Linked DNA regions of Homo sapiens: region 2 is linked to region 1. The links are contacts of gene promoters, found by promoter capture Hi-C in blood cells and fetal thymus (Javierre and others, 2016). All regions are on one chromosome and are shown on one strand. Each heading gives the region's core, a stretch centred on a gene start or on the middle of the fragment in contact. The rest is flanking DNA. Distances are from core to core; before and after follow the strand shown.

Region 1 (2,807 bases), core at 209-2,708:
ATAAAAAGATTCACATAGGATCTACACAAACAGTAGGGGCCCTTTTAAAAAGAATTCTACGGGTAACACTCACTGAAAAGAAAGCCCTTATCTAGATGGGAAGGAGAGAGAGCTGCCTTTAACTCAATGCCTGACTTCAGCAAACAAAGAAATGTCATTTCCTAAATTAAAAAGTAACACCACCCCAGGGAATACCCAGATTTCAACCTTCCCACCCACAGTAACAAGCCATCAGCAATCAGAACCCTCCAGACCAGGATGAAGCTTGAACTTGGCTGCAAGATTACCATGAAGTTCTGGAACAAATTCTGAGCCCTAGGCCTTGAACCTGCTCTGAAAATTTCTCCTAAGGAAATTACATTTAAACTCGGGTCCTTCAAGACCTGGGACTCCCGGAATCAATTCTAAATCTATCCCAAGTGGGGTTCCGAGGGAAGGTCGTTGGAGGGGAGAGGGCCAAGGCGTGCATGCGTCTTGGGGTTTTTTTCCCCTTGCATAAGAGACACACCTTTCCCACTGAGATTTTATGTTCATCTGGGCTGGCTTGAGGTATATCCAATATCCTCTGACTTCCACGCTGTCTTCTGATGGGGATGGCAGTTAACAAGAATAGAGGCAAGGTCCCCACCCATCAGTGTATCCTAAATTTGCCTGATCATACATGTCACCAGGGATCAGCGTCTCCAGTCCCGCCCCACCTCCACTGACTTAATCTCCAGTGGGAGAGGCTGGGAATAGATTGTTTCAATAGGGAACCCAGACCCCAGACCCCATTTTTACCGGGTCCCAGCCACCCTCCGAGGAAGGTACTAGGATTATCCCATTTTGCAGATCAAAACTGAGACGTGGGTGGCGGTGGTTCAGTGGCTTGTCCACTGTCACGATCACACAGCTTGTGAGGGACAGAGGTGACTCCCATCCAGACATGCAAGTGCGTCCCCTGGCACCTGGGTACCCAGGGGCACCCACCCCCTTGGGGATCTCCGTTTTAGGGCTTGGTGCCCCCCGCCCCGAGTCCCACCCGGGAGCCCCCTCTGTCCCGGTCGGGGGATCTCCTCCCGCAGAAGCCCGATCTTCCCGATCCTGTCGCCGGCGGGAGTCAGGGTGGCGGCCACTGACAACGAAAGTGAAACAAAGCTGGTCGCCGGGCGCGCACCCCCGCCGGCCCCGCGCGGACCTCCCAGGCCGGACGCCCCCGCCGCGTCCAGCCCCCGCCCCACCCCGCCCAGCCCGCCCCGGGGTCGCCTCCCCCCTCCCCGGGGAGAACGGGCCAGGGCCCCGCCGGGCGGGAACGGGCGCGCCCGGCCCCACTCACCTCCGGCCTCCATGGAGGACGCGAGCGGCCCCCGCGGCAGGCGGCGGGCGCCTCAGCCCCCCGGGCCGCGGGCCCTCATGCCGCCCCCGCGCCGCCCGCCCCGGCCAGGCCGCCGCCGCCGCCCGGAGAGGCCATCAGCTGCTTCCCGTCACATGGCGGTGGGCGCGGGCGGAGACGCGCGGGGGCGGGGCGCAGGGGAAACGGAGGGGGGGTGCGGACGGGATAAAAACGGTGGGGGGCAGCTGAGGGAAAAGATGGAAAATCGGGGAGGCGGTACGCTGACGGGATAAAAGCTGAGGGGTTGCTCAGGGGAAACGGGGGCGGGGAAGACGCGCGAACCAGATAAAAATGGGGCAGGGGTGGGGGGAGCTGAGCGGAAACGGGGTGGGGCGCGAACGGGATAAAACCCAGGGGTTGTGCGGGGTCCTGAGGGGAACCAGCGCCGGATAAAAACGGGGAAGGGAGGGAGGTGAACAGAGCTGAGGGAAACCGGGAAAAGGGGAGCGATAGAAACCGGAGTAGGGGAAGCCGGGCTCAGGGGAAAAGGGGGTGTTGGAGAGTGGTAGAGCCGGGCTGAGAGAAAAACCAAGCAGGGGAAGCGGCGATCCGGGGAGAACGGAGAGAGGGAGACCGAGGGCTGTGGGGGTAAGGGGAACCAAAGGGGCTGAAGCGAAATCGAGGGGAGGGGCAGGTGAAAATGGAGCCATGCGAAGGCCGATGAGGGGGGAAACGGGTAAAAATGGGGGCGGGAGAAATAGGTTGGAGGGAATACTGGCCGAGAAGAAACCTGGGGAGAGCTGGGCTTAGGGGAAAATGGGGAGGGGGTGGAAGGAAGGTGTAATAACCGGGTGCTGGGGAGGACGTAAGAATTGGGGGGTGCGGCGAGGGTCAAGGCTAGGGTAAAACAAGGGGGGCTACTCAATGGCTCCGGTAATGGGAGAGGGAAGTGAGGAGAACACGGGGCGGTGGGGAGAGGAGGGCAGGGTGAAAACCGGAGTGGGGGTGGGAACGAGATAAAAAACGGGGCAGGAGCGATTCGGAAGAAGACTGTCCCCTTACCTACCTACGGCGACAGCCTCGCCTGTCCCCGTCCCCCTGAGAAACCTGCTCTCCCTGTCTACCCGCATAGCCTCAAGAAATGGCTCGCTTGGGTCAGACGCCCCCTTTTTAACATTCCAGGGCCAGGGCAGGAGTCATCATGGAGGCTTTTCATGCCTGAAAGACCCCATTTCTTAGTTGTCCGGTCCCCAGTAGTATCAGTGGCTTGGGGATTTCTTACTGAGCTCAGCTCATTGTCCCCAAAATGCCTCCCCTTACCCCCAACTCGAGCGCTTCCCTTTCCTGCTTTGGGCCCAAGCTCTTCCCGCGGTTCTTGGTGTCAGCTTCATTCAAGTCACTCTCCCGCCTCTCATTCCTTTCTCCCCGCCTTTCTTCGCTTCCCTCCAAGTGCCCTCTCCATTTGCCGGTCACTGGTCCCAGAGCTCCGGATCGC
Region 2 (2,807 bases), core at 188-2,687, 4.7 Mb before region 1:
AGATAGCTTCAGATGAAAGGTTAAATATTGGCTCCGCATTTTGGGAGGCCGAGGCGGGTGGATCACCTGAGGTCAGGAATTCGAAACCAGCCTGGCCAACATGGTGAAATCCCGTCTCTACTAAAAATACAAAAATCAGCCGGGTGTGGTGGCACGTGCCTGTAATCCTAGCTACTCAGGAGGCTGAGGCACAAGAATTGCTTGAACCTGGGAGGCAGAGGTTACAGTGAGACTAGATCTCGCCACTGCACTCCAGCCTTCACAACAGAAAGAAAAAAAAAAGTTAAATATCTCCACAGGTCGCTACTCTATGTTCACCTTATCTTATGTAAAGTGCCGATTTATTGAGATCAAGACAAATACATAATTGGCTACTTCCCTATCTGCCCCTCTTCTCTTACAAACTGTGGATTTGGTAATGTGGCCATAGCCTCCTTCTTTCCCCTCCAGCTTGCTTTTCTCCTTTAAATACTGACACCTAAAGTCATCTCTGGAGAAAAGCACAGACCTGTCTCCCAGGTGCATTCTTAACCCTGGCGAAATAAATTTCTAAATGGATTGAGTCCTGTCTCAATCTTTTTGATTCTTTTTGATTTACAGATTGGAGACTCATGAAAGGGACCCTGGGTGGAGGTGGCCCTGACCTTTGACAAGTCTCCTACTGGTGCTTGGTGGGTCTTGCTCTGTCACCCTGGCTGGAGTGCAATGGCATGATCTTGGCTCACTGCAACCTCCATCTCCTGGGTTCAAGCGATGCTCCTGTTTCAACCCCCCAAATAACTGGGAGTATAGGCATGTGCCACCACACTCAGCTAATTTTTTGTATTTTTAGTAGAGATGGGGTTTCACCATGTTAGCCAGGCTGGTCTTGAAGTCCTGACCTCAAGTGATCCACCCGCCTCAGTCTCCTAGAGTGCTGGGATTACAGGCGTGAGCCACCATGCCGGCCTTGAGCGATCTTGATTGCCCTCCAAAATAGGACAGTTTGCTGAGGCCTGGGAGCTCCCCACCTCCAGAGAACTCCTGATCTCCCACAATTGGTTGATATCTAAGCTTGATTTCCCTGAACAGCTCCTTTTCTGCGTTTTACTCACTTCCAACAAGGAAGGTGAGTTTTCTGGCTTCCATGATGATGGCAAGCAGGCAGCTCCTTTCTGGAGTTTCGCTTGTGTCCGGCAGGGAAGGCAAGTTTGAGATTTCCCCGCTTCTAGGATGGTAGAGAGCGGTCTTCAGCCTGGGCCCCATGACTAGAAGTTAGGGTTAACAACCAGCTGGTCTTAATTTCTCCCTACTTTTAGAGCGTGCAGTAATCGTATAAATTGCTTGATTGTTTGTTTCCCTTGCTTAACTGTTTTTGTTTCTGTTGTTGTTTTGTTGCTTCTGTCTTTTCCCCATTGGACTGGACCAACTCCATTTGACTTGGTCAAATCTGAAGGAAAGTTTCATATTATGGCGAACAAGGTCTCATGAATTGGCTAAATACCCACAGCTGGAAAAAAAAAAAAAGGAAAAAGAAAAAACAGCCAGCAAAAGAAAAAAGAGAGAGAGAGACAAGGATTTTGATTACCTGAGGGGCATTATTTACATAACAAGGCCATCTTTTGCTAGCCAAGCCAAACTGAAAGAGGCTACATGGCTGTCACCTCACGCTAGTTCAGTAGCTAAGATTCTGTTCCTTTTTCACCACCGTGGCCTGGGCTTGGTTCCTAAATCAAGTCCTTTCTGGTTTGATGTTTGTGTTACTTTTGAAATATTAGCAGTTTGTCCCAGCTAAAATATGGTGATGAGATTTAAAAGGATTTTTTAAAGAGCTCAATGGTTAAAAGCTTAATTAAAGGCGAATATCTAAGATGTGTGTGTGTGTGTGTGTGTGTGTGTATTTATTTATTTATTTATTCATAGGGCCTTAATGCATTTTTTTCTCTCTTAGGATCTGTTTTTTTTTTGAGATGGAGTCTTACTCTGTCGTCCAGGCTAGAGTGCAGTGGCATGATCTCAGCTCACTGCAACCTCCACTCCCTGGGTTCAAGTGGTTCTCCTGCCTCAGCCTCCCAAGTGGCTGGGATTACAGGCGCACACCACCACACTGGGCTATTGTTTTTGTATTTTTAGTAGAGACAGGATTTCACCATGTTGGCCAGGCGGGTCTTGAACTCCTGGCCTCAAGTTATTCACCGGCCTTAGGCTCCCACAGTGCTGGGATTACAGGTGAGAGCCGCCCCACTTGGCCAGGATCTTGTTTTTTGAGAAAAAGTTTTCTTTTTTCTTCTCAGTTGACTGATTTCTGTTTTTTCCAATTTACTTCTGCCTGTCTCCTTTCTCTTGCCACCCTCTACAGCTCAAGGAACCTAAAATAATTTCTAACAGCTTGGGACTCCCTTAAGGAAAACAGAGAAAGTGCCAGACTCCTTTTTGGGGAGAAACCTCTGTTTTTCCATAACCTTATGGAGCCCTAAGAATATAAACAGATAAGTTCCTCTCAGATCTTCAACTGCTTGCTTTTGTTGTGTGTTACCTGACTTCTTTTTTGACTAAAATCTTTATTACAACAGGGGCTACTCTTGAATGTTTAAAACAGGAGAGGGTCTGGATGTGTGGGCCTAGTTATATATAAAAAAATTTTTTTTAAAGATAAGAGAGAGTATGGTTTAGACCCTTAGAGAAATGTCTTTGCAACAAAGTACACTGTAAAAGCATCACACAGCCTAGGTCCACCATATCATTCTCTTTGGAGACCCGGGATTCAGTGTGGGCTCTGTCCAGAGCTCTGAGTTCCAGTTAAAAGATAGAAACTAAATGTAAAACTA

What was found. The method cuts DNA at HindIII sites, captures the fragments that hold promoters and counts their contacts. A CHiCAGO score of 5 or more calls a contact.
Region 2: a contact is called between a fragment that was not itself captured here and the fragment with the promoter of WSB2 in region 1, in 1 of 17 cell types (M0 macrophages). The highest score is 5.7, in M0 macrophages.

What each region holds. Positions count from the first base shown.
Region 1 is chr12:118,059,721-118,062,527 of GRCh38, forward strand. It overlaps WSB2 (WD repeat and SOCS box containing 2), which reads right to left and starts at 1,459. Exons shown (of 9, transcript NM_018639.5): 1 at 1,316-1,459. The coding sequence starts at 1,328. It overlaps LOC124903030 (a long non-coding RNA gene), which reads left to right and starts at 1,740. Exons shown (of 2, transcript XR_007063479.1): 1 at 1,740-1,960. RefSeq lists a silencer at 869-918. The HindIII fragment of the contact is 4,146 bases long and covers 263-2,807 here.
Region 2 is chr12:113,404,239-113,407,045 of GRCh38, forward strand. No RefSeq gene overlaps it. Among named protein-coding and RNA genes, the nearest start is that of SDS, 1.8 kb to the left of the region's middle. The HindIII fragment of the contact is 773 bases long and covers 1,052-1,824 here.